Linked DNA regions of Homo sapiens: region 2 is linked to region 1. The links are contacts of gene promoters, found by promoter capture Hi-C in human tissues and cell types (Jung and others, 2019). All regions are on one chromosome and are shown on one strand. Each heading gives the region's core, a stretch centred on a gene start or on the middle of the fragment in contact. The rest is flanking DNA. Distances are from core to core; before and after follow the strand shown.

Region 1 (3,977 bases), core at 1,074-3,573:
TCTTCTTTGATGTCCATGGATCATACTCACTCATGCAAACCTCGCTTGAGCACTTGTTGAGGCTCGTTTTATTCTTCATCTTTAAATGTCTCCAAAAATCAGCTGTCTGCCCTCCATGTGGGTCCTCTGGTTCACTTGGGAAGTAAGCATTAGGCAGCGCTGCTGAGTGGAGTGGAAGAAGCCACCTAACAGATGCGACTCACAGAGATAATGCCCTCTCTCATCCAAGTCCATGCCCTGTCCTTTCAACTGTGAAATCTCTAACCAGACCATCACCAATTATAAAGCAGTCCCCAGCCTTACCATGGATTAAGTAGAAATTAAAGATCCCAACACACATATGTATTGCCTGGCTGTCTTGCCAGGGGGGTTTATCCTGAGATCACTCAGCATAGAGCCACTCAGTGTGCGAACACACTTGCATGTGGCATTATAGAAACACCCTGAACACACATACACATTGCCTGGCTGTCCTGCCAGGGGGTTTTATCCCTGGAGCACTTAGCATAGAGCCATCCACTGTGCGAACACAGCAGCACACGGCGTTACAGAAAGATCCCAAACACATACACACATCGCCTGGCTGTCCTGCCATGGGTTTTATCCCTGGAGCACATAGCATAGAGCCATCCACTGTGCGAACACACCAGCACATGGCGTATAAAACATGTACAATTGCAACCACCGACACTCCCAACTGCAGCGAGATAAGCTCACCAGACCAACAGCAACAGCGGCAGAAAGGGCGCTCCTACCTCCTCATCCAGTGTTTTCCCCACTCTTCAAGTAGGTGATTTTTTAAAGTTTATCACAAAAAAAAGACAAACCTTTTTTCCTAATGTACCTGATCACATTCAATCTTTTTTTAAAATTAACTTAAGCTGTGATTGTAGACAAAGCTCAGTAAAACTGCTCATCTCTGCAACCCATGCTCAATTGAGGCCGTTTCTGAGTTCCGATTATTACAAAGTGACTCTGCTCTATATCTGGACCTCACAGAGAGGCAATCTTCCATTTCAGCAAGGATGCAGAAACAGATTACTGAGGGCAAGGGTGAAGGAAGCTCCCCTAACTTCCAAATGCACTGACTGCCCAAAATGTGGGGATCGCCCCCGCCCACCCGCCGGCAGCAGCCTCCGCCTGTAAATGGGTTGGGGATTTGCGTTGGAAGGCTGTGGCCCTCCCGCTATGTTCCTAAAATTTATTACCAGAAAAAAAAACTAAAATTTATCCAATACTTCAGTTTTCCCAACTTATCCCAGATGTTGCTCTTTGCCCCAAAGCAATTTTACCAAAACCATTCCCCGGGAAAGCCTCGACCTTTGTCCCCTTGCATTTTGAGTAACCATTTGGGCAACTGGAAAAAAGCTGCTGCTGCCTTCAAACGTTGGTTCGCCCTTTCCTTTGACCCTGGAGACCATAAGCGAATCCGGAACTGCCAACGTCGCTCACCCCAGAGACTGAAGTTCCCTATCGCGCACCTAACCATAATTTCCAATGACGGCGCCCGCACACCTCAAAGATAAGGAACGCGGTGCTGGGTCTTTGACTCCTGAGCAGGCGTGCGCCAGGCGTTTACAACTCGGCTTCGAAGAAAGTTTTTGTTCACACCCGAAACCAAAGTATCTGTGCATTAACTCACGGGCTCAGGCAGATAACGAAAGGCTTTTCCCAGCATTTACGACGCGGCACTTCCAAGGGTGCGCTGAATCCTGTCTGTCCCCAGAGGTAGCCGACCGGTCCCCGTCTCCACCGACCTCCCCTGGCGGCCAGCGTCTCACACGCGGCTTGTCCGCCTGGGAGCCAGCATCGTCCTCTCCCGCCGGCTTCCAAAGGGCCGGGGCGCCCTTACCTCGCTGACGATGGTGGAGTGGGCCTGGGCGTAGCGCCAGCCGCCGCGGCACGGCACAAGGGGAGCCGAGCGGTTGGGGAAGGCGGCGAGTGGGTCCGCGCAGCTGAGAGCGCTAGTGGCGGAGGCGCTGTCGTTGGCCGCCTCCAGGAGGTAGCGCTGGCAGCGGCCGCGGCGCTCGGGGGGCTCTGGGCCGCGGGAGGCGGGCGCCGTGCGGTTCCACTCCTCCTCCGGGCTCCAGCCGCAGCGCTCGGCCAGCGCCGCGGCACTTGGCCCGCGGCACCAGTAGTGGTCGGGCTGCGTGCCCAGGAAGACCACGCCGACGAAGAGGAAGGCGAAGGTGACGCCCGTCAGGCACAGCAGCAAAAACACGCGCCTCTGGAAGCGCCCGAACTCGCCCACCCGCTGCAGCGCCTCGTCGAAGGAGGGCATGGTGCGCCCGCCGCCCGCCGCCCGCAGCCCGCGCCTCGGAGTGACCCGCGGACCCAGCCGGCGGCCTCTCTTTACTCCGCCGCCTCCCCCGCGCCACCCGCCTCACTCGCCCTGGCGCTGTGCCGGCCGCAGCCGCTCCTCCTGCCCCCCGCGGCCCCCGCCTCTCTTCCCCGGGCGCCCGCAGCAGCCCCGGGCCACAGGTCGCGGGAGGGACGGCCGCGAGCCGGACGCACCCGGCCGGGGTGGGCGCGCGGTGGGGCTCGGGCGGTGCGGCCTGACTACGCGCCAGGGACCCGGCCGGGACCGCGAGTGACGGGCGCAGCCTCCGGCCTGGCGCGGAGCTCCTTTTGGTCCCTGCCAGCAGCCTGCTCTGCAGTCAGCCCCAGGTCGGGCTCCAGAAGAAGAAAGTTCCAGGGTCACCCGACCACTCCCGGAACTTCTGGGACCCGATCTCTCAGCGGCCCGGAGTGCAGCCCGGGGACTAAGGACGCGCGCGCGCGCCCCGGGTCCGGTGCCTGTGCCCGGGAGAGCCCCCTCCAGCCCTTGGCCCTTGCGCGTGCGGAGGCCTCCTGCGCCCATGTGGGGCAGGGCAGGGCAGGGCAGGGCAGGGCAGGGCAGGGCAGGGCAGGGCTGCCCGTTCCCAGCACAGCGCTGGCCATCGCCCTCGACCCATCGAGAGCTACAACTTGGGATTTGATCACCCAACTTTCCCCAGAGGGCAGCCGGGCAACCCACACAGGCGAAGGGGCTTGCTCAGCGTCCAGGAGGTTTGGGGTGAGAAGGGATCGCCTCAAGGCCAGGCCTGATGCAGACCTCCTTCGCCAGGGCCTTCCCACCCACCTTCGGTCTGAACGCCAGGGAAGGGTGTTGGTGGTTGGTTTGAATCCTGGTTTTTCCGCTTACTTATTGCGCCTGCCAATTCGGCAGAGCGCGATCAGAACTTCCCGCCCAGGCTGCCCAGGCTGCTGGGTCCATGCTGGGACGCCTTCCCCGGGCTGGGTCGCGGTCCCCCCACGCCCCCACGTTATCGGCCCACGTTCTGCCTTTAGCTCACTTTTCTCCAAGGCCTTGGGAGGACTTGCGGTTCCTCCTCCGGAACAAGGAGTTTGAAGCCAGGCTGCTTGGATTCAAACTGGCCTCATGTCCTCACCAGCAGTTTCAACTGCCCGCTGGACCCCAGACTCAGTCTGTCCCCCTCCAACCCAGCTCCCCTTTCCTGCCCTGCCTTTCGGTGCAACCATGTCCTGGGCCCAGACTCAGAACCTCAGTATGGCGGGGACACCACTCACTCCTCAGGCCTGTACTCTTAGGTCATCTCGGCTTGGAACCCCTTTTGCCAATGTTGGAGCTCAGAAAACAATACGCCAAAATGAAGGCCTCAGAAGCAGTCTCTGTGTCATCTTCTGCCCTCCTGTCTCTCGGTCCCATTCTCCCCCAGGCTAGCCATCGAAACCAGAACGCTTTTCCCCAAAGCCAGTCATAAAACAAAAATATCACTGTGATTTTCCCTCACTTGTCTGTGTAAAAACTGGCCATAAAGAAATCAACTGTTCTACCTTGTTGATTGCAGTCCTAAGACCTCCCATTCCACAGAAGAACCTGCCCCTTACCCAGAAGGAAAAAAAGGCTGCTCAGAGAGGCCAAGAAGAATCTAGAGCCACCGGCCTCGCTGGGTTTCCTCACTCAGTATCAGCAT
Region 2 (3,977 bases), core at 836-3,335, 130 kb after region 1:
ACTGGTTTTTATTGTTTTGTTTTCTACATATTCATCATTAATTTTCCTCCAAACTATCTGACAGAATAATAGCTCTCCCCTCAATGTATTCAAATACGTCACGCATTGGTTTCTCTTCTTTTCTTTTGTTCTGAGAGACCTCCCACATGGAGCCCCCAGCCCTCCTGCTCCACTTTCGCCTGGTGGATCTCTAGGTCTGCAGCAGAGCTGTTGCCCTGGGCTCTCTTTCCCCACCTTCCTGAGTGTTCCTTTTGTCTCCTGTCTCCTAGATGCCATCTCCTTCTTGATTTTTGTCACATTTTAAAGAAGCATAATTTCCAATAGCTTCCTGAGAAAGCAGGTATGCCTGTCCTCCTGCACTCTCTTCTGTGGCATCAACTGTTGAAACCTGAAAATGACATTTCTCAGACCCGTCACCACCTGGCTTCCTATACAGTGGGTCACACTGGCCAGAGATGGGAAGGAAGGAGCAAGAGAGAAGAGAAACATTGATATTATAGGCTGTAGAATTGCACCATAGGCTGAATTCATACCCTCATCAGGTCTCTTAAACAAAAGTTACAAAATGGGTAGGAAGGAGGGAATCTCAGAACTGGAATGGAGACACTGACTGAACCCAAATGAATCTGAAGATCTTGAACCCCCATGATATAGTTAGGCTCTGTGTCCCCACTCAAATCTCACCTTGAATTGTAATAATCCCCACGTGTCATGGGAGGTACCAAATGCAACGTAATTGAATCATGGGGGCAGGTTTTTCCTGTGCTGTTCTTGTGGTAGTGAATAAGTCTCATGATATCTGATGGTTTCATAATAGGGAATTCCCCTTTACATGCCAGGACTCCTCTTGCTTTCTGTCATGTAATACGTGCTTTTGCTCCTCCTTTGCTTTCCACCACAATTGTGAGGCCTCCCCAGCCATGTGGAACTGTAAGCCAAAACTTTTTCCTTTGTAAATTACCCAGTGTGGTATGTCTTTATTAGTATCATGAGAACAGAATAATACAATAAATTGGTACCAGTGTCAAAGAAAAGTGTTGAACTCTATAAAATATTTAAAGAGATTTATTCTGAGCCAAATATGAGTGACCATGGCTCGTGACACAGCTCTCAGGAGGTCCTGAGAACATGTGCCCAAGGTGGTCGGGGCACAGCTTGGTTTTATACATTTTAGAGAGGCATGAGGCATCAATCAAATGCATTTAAGAAATACATTGGTTTGGTCCAGAAAGGCAGGACAACTCAAAGTGAGGAGGGCATGGCGGGGGCTTCCAGGCTATAGGTGAAGTTAAACATTTTCTGGTTGACAATTGGTTGGGTTTGTCTAAAGATCTGGAATTGATAGAAAGGGAATGTTCAGGTTAAGATAAAGATTGTGGAGGTCTGTTCTAAGACGATCAAATAGAAACGGCTCTAGTCTGCAGCTCCCAGCGTGATCAATGCAGAAGATGGGTGATTTCTGCATTTCCAACTGAGGTACCTGGTTCACCTCATTGGGACTGGTGGGACAGTGGGTGCAGCCCATGGAGGGCTGAAGCAGGGTGGGGTGTCACCTCACCTGGGAAGCGCAAGAGGTCAGGGGATTTCCCTTTCCTAGCCAAGGGAAGCCATGACAGACTGTACCTGGAAAAACGGGACACTCCCGCTTAAATACTGCACTTTTCCAACAGTCTTAGCAAACAGCACAACAGGAGATTATATCCCATGCCTGGCTCGGTGGGTCCCATGCCCTCAGAGCCTTGCTCACTGCTAGTGCAACAGTCTGAGATCAACCTACAAGGCAGCAGCCTGGCAGTGGCAGGAGCATCTGCCATTGCTGAAGCTTGAGTAGGTAAACAAAGCTGCCAGAAAGCTCAAATGGGGCAGAGCCTACTGCAGTGCTGCGAGGCTTGCTGCCTCTATAGACTCCACCTCTGGGGGCAGGGCATAGCTGAATAAAAGGCAGCAAAAACTTCTGCAGACTTAGATGTCCCTGTCTGACAGCTCTGAATAGAGCAGTGGTTCTCCCAGCACAGTTTTTGAGCTCTGAGAATGGACAGACTGCCTTCTCAAGTGGGTCCATGACCCCCATGTAGCCTAACTGGGAGACACCTCCCCGTAGAAGCTGACTGACACCTCATATAGGCGGGTGCCCCTCTGGGACAAAGCTTCCAGAGGAAGGATCAGGCAGCAATATTTGCTGTTCTTCAATATTTGCTGTTCTACAGCCTCTACTGGTGATACCCAGGCAAACAGGGTCTGGAGTGGACCTCCAGCAAACTCCAACAGACCTGCAGCTGAGGGACATGACTGTTAGAAGAAAAACTAACAAACATAAAGCAATAGCATCAACATCAACAAAAAGGACATCCACACCGAAACCCCATCTGTAGGTCACCAACATCAAAGACCAAAGGTAGATAAAACCACAAAGATGGGGAGAAACCAGAGCAGAAAAGCCAAAAATTTTAAAAGCCAGAGCAACTCTTCTCCTCCAAAGGATCGCAGCTCCTCACCAGCAGCGGAACAAAGGAGGACGGAGAATGACTTTAACGAGTTGACAGAAGTAGGCTTCAGAAGGTCGGTAATAACAAACTTCTCTGAGCTAAAGGAAGGTGTTTGAACCCAACGCAAGGAAGCTAAAAATCTTGAAAAAAGACGAATGACTAACTAGAATAAACAGTGTAGAGAAGACCTTAAATGACCTAATGGAGATGAAAACCATAGCATGAGAACTACATGACGCATGCAAAAGCTTCAGTAGCTGATTTGATCAAGTGGAAGAAAGGGTCAGTGATTGAAGATCAAATGAATGAAATAAAGCAAGAAGAGAAGTTTAGAGAAAAAACAGTAAAAAGAAATGAACAAAGCCACCAACAAATATGGGACTATGTGAAAAGACCAAATCTATGATGGATTGGTGTACCTGAAAGTGACAGGGAGAATAAAACCAAGTTGGAAAACACTTTTCAGGATATTATCCAGGAGAACTTCCCAAACCTAGCAAGACAGGCCAACATTCAAATTCAGGAAATACAGAGAACACCACAAAGATACTCCTCGAGAAGAGCAACCCCAAGACAGATAATTGTCAGATTCACCAAGGTTGAAATGAAGGAAAAAATGTTAAGGGCAGCCAGTGAGAAAGGTCAGGTTACCCACAAAGGGAAGCCCATCAGACTAACAGTGAATCTCTCAGCCCAAACTCTACAAGCCAGAAGAGAGTGGGGGCCAATATTAAACATTCTTAAAGAAAAGAATTTTCAACGCAGAATTTCATGTGCAGACAAACTAAGCTTCATAAGTGAAAGAGAAATAAAATCCTTTACAGACAAGCAAATGCTGAGAGATTTTGTCACCACCAGGCCTGCCTTACAAGAGCTCCTGAAGGAAGCACTAAACATAGAAAGAAAAAACCAGCACCAGCCACTGCAAAAACATGCCAAATTGTAAAGACCATCAATCCTAGGAAGAAACTGCATCAATTAACAGGCAAAATAATCAGCAAACATCATAATGACAGGATCAAATTCACACATAACAATATTAACCTTAAATGTAAATGGGCTAAATGTGCCAATTAAAAGACACAGACTGGCAAATTGGATAAAGAGTCAAGACCCATCAGTGTGCTGTATTCAGGAGACCCATCTCATGTGCAAAGACGCACGTAGGCTTGAAATAAAGGGATGGAGGAAGATCTACCAAGCAAATGGAAAACAAAACAAAAAAAAAACGAGTTGCAATCCTAGTCTCTGATAAAACAGGCTTTAAACCAACAAAGATCAAAAGAGACAAAGAAGGCCATTACATAATGGTAAAGGGATCCATTCAAAAAGAAGAGCTAACTATCCTAAATATATATGCACCCAATACAGGAGCAACCAGATTCATAAAGCAAGTCCTTGGAGAACTACTTAGAGACTTAGACTCCCACACAATAATAATGGGAGACTTTAACACCCCACTGTCAATATTAGACAGATAAACGAGACAGA

The links. Contacts are between HindIII fragments. The study calls those that stand out against the background at their distance.
Region 2: a contact is called between a fragment that was not itself captured here and the fragment with the promoter of SLC22A3 in region 1, in 1 of the 25 tissues and cell types used here (H1 embryonic stem cells).

The regions. Positions count from the first base shown.
Region 1 is chr6:160,346,724-160,350,700 of GRCh38, reverse strand. It overlaps SLC22A3 (solute carrier family 22 member 3), which reads right to left and starts at 2,323. Exons shown (of 11, transcript NM_021977.4): 1 at 1,853-2,323. The coding sequence starts at 2,281. The HindIII fragment of the contact is 13,379 bases long and covers 1-3,977 here.
Region 2 is chr6:160,212,286-160,216,262 of GRCh38, reverse strand. No RefSeq gene overlaps it. Among named protein-coding and RNA genes, the nearest start is that of SLC22A2, 45 kb to the left of the region's middle. The HindIII fragment of the contact is 4,279 bases long and covers 1-3,977 here.